2 separate regions of the Homo sapiens genome follow, and region 1 is linked to region 2. The links are contacts of gene promoters, found by promoter capture Hi-C in blood cells and fetal thymus (Javierre and others, 2016). All regions are on one chromosome and are shown on one strand. The core of a region is centred on a gene start or on the middle of the fragment in contact, and the rest is flanking DNA. Distances in the headings are between cores, read along the strand shown. Region 1 overlaps ANO10 (anoctamin 10). Region 2 holds the start of TOPAZ1 (testis and ovary specific TOPAZ 1).

What was found. Contacts are between HindIII fragments. The CHiCAGO score rates a contact against its expected background, and 5 or more counts as called.
Region 1: a fragment that was not itself captured here is called in contact with the fragment with the promoter of TOPAZ1 in region 2 in 3 of 17 cell types (activated CD4 T cells, total CD4 T cells and total CD8 T cells); the score reaches 7.4 in activated CD4 T cells.

Annotation. Positions count from the first base shown.
Region 1 is chr3:43,546,805-43,550,822 of GRCh38, reverse strand. ANO10 (anoctamin 10) reads left to right here. Exons shown (of 13, transcript NM_018075.5): 11 at 975-1,103. Among named protein-coding and RNA genes, the nearest start is that of ANO10, 73 kb to the left of the region's middle. The HindIII fragment of the contact is 9,659 bases long and covers 1-4,018 here.
Region 2 is chr3:44,239,929-44,244,083 of GRCh38, reverse strand. TOPAZ1 (testis and ovary specific TOPAZ 1) reads right to left here and starts at 2,198. Exons shown (of 20, transcript NM_001145030.2): 1 at 1,685-2,198; 2 at 1-1,231. The coding sequence starts at 2,030. The HindIII fragment of the contact is 1,559 bases long and covers 1,050-2,608 here.

The DNA of each region.
Region 1 (4,018 bases), core at 260-2,759, 690 kb after region 2:
AAAAAGACACTCTTCACTATGTACTTAGAATTTTTTATTTTTAAGCCATGAGAATATAATCAAAAGTAAATAAATAGAAATTTTAAACTAAAGTAAAGACAGTCTTAGATTTCTTATGAAGAAAACTGTGGAAAAATAATCAGACTACACAAAGATTTCTAAATTGTAAGATGGCAGAAGTTCTCCATGGGACAAAATGTATTCATATTAAGTTTGGATTCAGTCATCTTTTGTTTTGCTTCTTTTAAAATTAATGTTTCTAATAGTACTTGTGTTTCTTGGAATTAATGGGTAAATTATTAAGTGGTGATCACCATATACTTTGTATTAAAGAAAAAAAGAGCAATGGTCACAACATTTCTCCATCCATCCTTGGCAGTATGCACCAAAGTCTCCTTCAGGGAATGCTGGACCAGTTTGTCTAGTAGGTCTCAGTGGGGCCTAGCATCTATATTTTTCTAAAGTTCTACATTTGATTTGCTAAATGATGCTAGAAAAGGATCACCATTTATCACTGGTGCCTTGATTATAAAGCTGGTTATAGCTGAGTCAGATGTGGTGTGTGATGTCAAAGTAGAAGGATGGTTTCACAACATAAGTTCTGTTTGAAATCTTACCTGTTTTTTAATGTGAAACATTTTTCCCTGGCAGCCCTACTTTAGATTCCCCTTAGATGTGAGTAGAGTAACTTTAACAGTATTCCCAATTCAGGTCCAGGGCTGCCTCCAATTAGGAAGATAGAACATACTGCTTTGGGATATTCATGCCAAAAGTATCTAAAATACTGCCTAACAGTATGGCTTTTTTTTCAGCTAAAAAAATCATACCATGACAGAGAAAAAAATTTAAAATGTACTTGGAATGTTTAGAACTAGGGTAAGACATTTTCCTTGATTTTTAGATAACATGAAAAAGGATGAGGAAATATGGAAGCAGTCATTGCAATTTTTAATTTCCATTCTTTTTTCTTTTAGTTGGCTTTTGAAACGATGAGTGTTATATCTGTGGTCACTAACTGTGCGCTGATTGGAATGTCACCACAAGTGAATGCAGTCTTTCCAGAATCAAAAGCAGACCTCATTTTGATTGTAGTAGCAGTGGAGGTAAGTAAAGATTTAAACTTATTTTAAGCAGTATCCATATTACGTTTCTCTATTCCAAAGCAGTGCTGTCTCGGGCTGTCCATGACTGACAATTGAGCAATATGGATTTACTGGTAAGAAAGCAAAAACAGTTCAAGTAATAGAAAACATGAGGATTCAGGCTGTGTATTCATGGTTATTGCCCAAGTATGAAAAACTGTCACCACAATGCAAACAGGAAGTGACTTTTCCACTATTATGCTGGCCTGCCCAGTGCTAAGTAGGTAAATCCTATTTGAGGATCAGGTGCCATGGCTCACGTCTGTAATCCCAGCACCCAAGCCAAGGCAGAAGGATGACATAAGGCCAGGAGTTCAAGACCTGGGTAACATAAGACCCTGTCTCCACAAAAAATTTAAAAATTACCTGATGTAATTTGGTACCTGATGGTAATTTGGTACCTGATGTAATTTGGTACTGTAATTTGGTTCATTCTTGTAGTCCTAGCTATTTGGGAGGCTGAGGCAGGAGGATTGACTGAGCCCTAGAGTTCAAGGTTACAGTGAGCTATGATGGCACCATTGCACTCCAGCCTGGGCAACAGAGCGAGACACTGTCCCTTAAAAAAAAAATCCTATTCAAAATCAAATTCCATACATTTAATATGTATTTTTAGTCTATTTTAGAGAAAAGACAGTTCTACTTTCTTAAGCAAATCCTAAAAACACTTTTTGATAATGACTTAAGTCTCATTTGCTACAGGTGTGAAATTCATTGTGAAACACTCTCAAACTTCAAAATGTAATTTGTAGGACGATAGATAATTTCACATGCAAAGCCCAAGCAGGCTGTCTGTGCTCTTTTTACGTTTTTCTTTTATCATGTTTCAGAATATGGATCCCTGTAACATCTTGGAAATTAAGCACTAACCAAATGTAAATGGAATAATTTGTAGGAATTTTTTTTGTTGCTTGTAATTATAGTTGTCAAGAATATTGTAACCACCTTTCATTTTTAGATATTTTAAAAACAAAACAGTTATGGAACTCTATAAAAGCAGAACTTAGGAGGATCCTGAATGGTGTTTCATATACTTAAGGCCTTAGGACTCAGGGCTGACCAGAGGAAAGGAAATCATGAACTTGCACATTTCCAGTGTTGGCTAAAGAAATATATTCTGCTTTGCTCTTTTTGGCTCTTATTGTATTTGGTAGGAATCTGTGTTCATGATAGATGCTATATGTGGAATATGCATTTTGGAGAATGATTTTAGACAGCAGTGAGTGGGAGGGAAAAGAAAATGGCCCTGACAGATACAAGTAGTCTATTTTGAATTTTGTAAGTTGAATAGAATTTTGGAGAGCTATTTGCAAGGCTGATTTATGACCTGTGGAAGTGAGAAAACAAGACAGAGTTACCTTTGACAGGGAGAGACCAGCTGGCTAGGCTTGTAGTGTGCTTTCTTGATTTAGAATATGGCACTTCACTTCACAGATCTAAAAATTTGTCTTTGCCAGTATACTCAGAGTTAATTAAAGGCTTTTGGGACTGACTGAAACTTAAAACTCATGAAACTTACAAGGGATTGACCAGAAAGCCAGGTGGTTAATTTACAATAAAAAGATACTTTACCAATACCGTAACAGTGGATGTTAAAGTGAAGGTGGATTGGTTATTAGAAGATTTCTTGGTAAATTTAGAACAAGAGCAGGAGTGGTGTAATATCCTGAAATACGCAGAAAACCTGAAAACCATCCCTACCTCCACACAGAGCAGAGCTCTCTCATGAGCCAGCTCTTGGTGTCCATCGCTAGCTTCTGAGCAATGCTGGATGAGCTCATTACAGTCTACATCTTGATTTTTGCCCTCACTTTCTCTAGATTCCTGGCTGGCTCAATATATTACCATTGATTAGCCTACTGCTTTCTTTTGTATTTAGTGATACCTTAATCACATATTGAGGGCCTGGTTCTTCTTACTTAATTCGGGAGACTTACTGGCCTATAAATACTGTTCTGCAGGTGGCTAGTCTCGTGTTAAACAGGATGGTTTTGCTAGTCTAATCCTCACTCGATTCACTTAATCTGCACATTCTAGGGATACTTGGCTGTTACCCTCTAGGTTCTAACCATTATGCCTCCTCTTATTTATTTATTTATTGTCTCTTCACATTGTATAAAAACAGCTGTTTTAATTGTCATTGTCTAAACTGGCAAAGTAAGAAGCATCAAGGAAGGCTAGGAAGAAGCCAGGAAGCATCAAAGAAGGCTCCCTGCAGGTTTCAGGGGGATCATAGCCCTGCCAACATCTTGATTTTGGACTTCTAGCCTCCAGACTATGAGAAAATACAGTCCTGCTGTTTTAAGCCATCTATAATAGTTTGTGATAACTTTGTTCTGGCAACCCTGAGAAACAAATGCATTTTCCTTTCTGTTGTAATAACTTTTGTTAGCCAATTTTTAAAGGGTCAGTCTGCTAGCAACAAATTCTCTTAATTTTTTCTTCATCTGAAAACTTTTTTTCTCTTTCATTCTTAAGTATAGTTTTGCTGGACATAGAATTCATGGATGATAGTCTTTTTCTTTCAGCATATGAAAAACATTTTGGTATTTCCTTCTAGTCTCAATGGTCTCAGAAGAGAAATATATCATTCCAATTGGTGTTCGCCTGTAGTTAATGGATCCTTTTTTCTCTGGCTGCTTTTAAGATTTTTTTCCCTGTATCTTTAATTTTTGAAAGTTTAATCATAATGGGCCTTAGTGTAGCTTTTTGGGAGTTTATTCCATTTGGGGCATGCTCAGCTTCTTAGATCTGTGGGTTTGTGTCTTTAACCAAATTAAGGAACTTTATAGCCGTTATTTCTTCAAGTACTCTTTCAGCCCCACTCTCTCTCTTCTCCTGGGATTTTCATATGAATCTTGGGTCTTTTGTATTTT
Region 2 (4,155 bases), core at 949-3,448:
CAACTTTCCTGAGACCCACGAAGAAAGTAACTTGATTCTGGCAAGGAAGCCTTTTTCCAACACCAGGCAGATATTCTAGCACATGAATAATAGGGCCAAGTTCTTTTACCAGTCATAGGTATTGTTCTCTGACAGCTTAACTTCAATTCTTCAGATGCACTTCTTAAGTCTTCCCGTGAAGATCTCCTTTCAATATGGTACTCATTAGGTGATTTCCCTATGAAGCTTTTCATCGATTTAAAATCCTCTTTCGATGCCATGCTTTCATAACCTAACGGCTCTGAAGCATTCTCTGTTTCTTCTTTCAAAAGTGGTTCAATGGTTTTCTGAAACACAGCATTTACATGATGTTCAGAACTTGTTTCTTTTTCTACTGTTTCTGGGACACTTAATAAATGATCCATCAAAGAGACTGTATTATGGCTTACTTTTCTCAAAACATTTAAAGGACTTTTAGTCTCTGCTTCTTTACCATCAGCAATCATTTGATTTTCTTGCAACATCAACTCAGACTTGTTATACTCATTAGAGAAGTTCATCTCAGTAACTGTTTCATCTGCTTTTTCAGACAACTTCATCCTTTTCCTGGGTTTTCGCCCAACACTGCTCTCCTCTATTGAATATTTATTTTTTTCATGTTGAAGGCAGGAAAGCAAGCCATTGGTTTTACTTTGGTATAAATCACTCTCTTCTGGTAGTAACTTATTTACTCCCATTACATTTTCTTCTGTTTGTAAGAGCTGAGGAATACTATTTGTGTCACTCTTCTCTGCAAGACTCCTAAGGTTTTCTTTCTTTGAGAAATTTTCTGCTACATGCATACATCCACCATCAGGTTTATATGGCAGGTTGTTTTCATCATTACAACCCTTGGAATGGGGGAAACAATTGCAATCACGTAATTTTAAAACGGAATTATTTTCTACTTCAGGTGACAAGATATTACAAGAATATTTTGGAGTATTCTTGTACAGTTCATCTTGGAATTCAACCTTAATATTTTGTGTAGCCTCATTTTCGGTTATTTTGAGAGGTGGGTTTTCTAAGCTTTTAAGTTTTTTATTTCGAATTCTTCTTTTAATACCTTCTATTATACTTTCCTTACCCAAAGACTGCAAGCATTCCACTGTTTGGAAAGATTCCGAACTGGTTAATGATTCCTTTCTTACCAAGTCAAGCCCTGGCTGTGGATCATCACTTGAGGCTTCAGTAACTTTTCTTTTTTCCTTGGCTGATCAAAACAACAAAATATATCAGAAAAGATTTTATATTGAGGAGGAAAATGCAATTATCATTGAAATTAAAAATTGTGAGGCTATCATTTTTATTTCCCTGAACAGCTGTATGTAAATACACATTTGTTTTTAAATGAAAGCCTTAATTTCTGTTAAGGAATTACATATAAACCTGTATAAATTCTAAGGCAACTGAATAACCCTTATAACATCGTCATCTCATACTAGCCAAAATGGACCACAAGTAGGAATTCCTCCTATCATAATTCTGACCAAGGATTCCTAACAGGGAACACCCCTTTTAAGGAAATCCATTTTTCCCATCTCCTGGTCAACTATGTGCATCAGAAATAACCATGCAGGTTCAAGTTAAAGACTAGTGGTAAAACAAAGATGGAGCACGCTGAGGTACAAGGGCTAAAGGTAAGTGATCGTGGATGCTTTCTTACTGTGTCTTTCCGTTTGCAAGGGGAGTTCAGCCTCCTTTGCTGCTTCTAGGCCTCGCGGGTCTGACGAGTCTGACGGGCTCACCGGGCCCCTGCGCCCCTCCACCTGACGCCTTGCGGCCTTTCCAGCCCCTGATGCTGCAACCGACTTATCACTTTCCACCTCGCCTCTCCCAGGGGTGGCCCGGGCCACCATTCTCCTCTTTTGCTTATTTTCCCGGCACCCCCCGGCCTCAGGGCCACAGCCTCCCGCCGCGCCTGGCCCTGGCGCCTGCCGCTTCTGCAGGTTTCGCACATTGCCTTCAGGCCCTGAGGCCGTCGTGGGGCCCAGGGGTGGAGGTCGTCGCATGTGCCCCGGGGCCGGCCCGCTGGGGCCCCTCTGCACCAGCTCGCAGGAACCCACCGCGGTGCAAACGCTGCTCCCGCCTGGAGGTACCTACTGCCCTCTGACCCACCCCACACCGCCAGTCACCACAGCCCGGGGCCGGAAGCGGAAGTGGGGCGCGTAAGCGGAAGTGGGGCCTCGTGTCTGGGGCCCCGACTGGTGCTTCGGGATCCAACGGGCAGGAGAGCCGCGAGTTCCGTGCCAGCGTCTTTTTGGAGGGCCTCTCGCGGAGCTCCGAGGGAGGCAGTGGCCGCGCCCGATTGCATTGCGAGGGACTGTAGTGGGGCTCATCACATAACAGGCCTCCGTTGGCCCTTCCACTAGGCTGAGCTTCCTGGAACCGTTCAGGGCTCATTCTCCCAGCTGCTGCTCTTCGCGCCTTGGCTGCTCGCAAAGGCCACTGTCAGTGGCTTGTAACTCCACACCAAGTCTCCTAGAAGCCCCTGTCTAACTGTCTTCCTGATATATTCACCCGGATATTCCATATTCCACAGGCACCTCACACTCAGATGGGCAAACCAGCTCATCGCTCCTCACAAGCTTGCTCCTTTCACATAGGTGGATGCGCCACCATGCGCCTAATTGTTTAAGCCAGAAACCTAGAAACCATCAGAGACAACCTTCTTTCTACTTCATCCCTCACATCCACTTTCACTAGATCTACTTGACTGTATTTTGTTTGTCAGCCACTCTCCCGTTTGCCATTACCGTGGCTCTGGCCCTCAGACTTTCTTGACTGACCTACTGCATCAAGCCTCTGAATCCATCCTTGAGCTATTCCAGTCAAACGTCCACCTCCTTGCCAGGCCATGCCTCTCCGATGACAGGAGATCCTAGCACTTCTCAGTTTGACCCTTCATGAACTTCTTTTGCTCAAAGACTAAAACTAACAGAAATCCAAACTCTGGTGTGGTATCTGTGACCCTATCTGATGTGGCCTCTGAAAAATTAACTAGTTTTCTCTTACTGCCACTGTAGGGTAAAAGTTGTGCTTTGATGGAAAACTACATAGAAGTCACCCTTCTGAATTATCTGATTCTGATTCTATGGGAGTTATTTTACAACTCTGTAAATTATAGATAAGCGATAGCAACACAAAATAACGGTCTATAGAAATCCAAATTCTGTCCAATAGAAGTTTAATTGACTTCCCATTTTCACTGTGGAAGAAGCTAGTTTTGCCTCCATTTCCACATTCACTTCATTCCTGGTCTAGAATGTTTGTTGTTTGGACTTACCCTTTGAACCAATGTTTATAAAATCTGCCTGATGGGAGAATATAATCTTTAATACATGTTCATCCATGACAGCCATTATTTTCTCTTTTTTGAAAATTATCTCTTATCACCACACATAGCCTGCCCATAAGCCACGTTGGACTACTACCTGAAGTTCCCCAGATTTCATATACTTTTGTTATGCTTGTGCTTCTGTACCTGACAGTCCTGGAAAGTCTTCCTTTGCTTGTCTGCCTGGTAAACTACATATTTCCCCTTCAAGATTCATGCAAGGATCACCCATCAAGGAAGCCTTCCTGCAACTGTTCTTGCACTTTGAGGGGTAAAGTGTTCCTTCCTGTCTGCGAACACACAGTTCAACTATTTACTTGTGTGTCTCCCTTAGTAGCTTCCTTCCAACCAAGTGCAGATACCTTCCATTAATCTTTGCTTTCTGTGTGTTTAAAGAAGGACCTGGTGAATTTGAATACAATGCATTAAAGAATGGTAGGTATGATGCATAGAGTGTGACTAATATGGCAGTTTGGATGAGAAGCTCAGGTCAAGTATTCTGAGGAGCTTTTATAAAATAGAACTTAAGTAAAAGAGGTGTAAAAGATACAGAAATTATCCTTGTTTCTTTCTCTTTGTAAGTACCCTTAGTAAAAGGAAAATCAGTTTAAGACTAGCAGAATTTATAAAAAGTTATCATAAGCACTTCAGGCTCATTCCACATTCACTTTATGCCTCACTTTATATATCACTTTCCTCATCTGTAAAATGAAATAGTGTGTCCTCAGAGTTCTCATGAGAATTAGATGTGCCAATATTTGTAAAGCAGTTAGAATAATGCCTAGTTGATTATAAACATT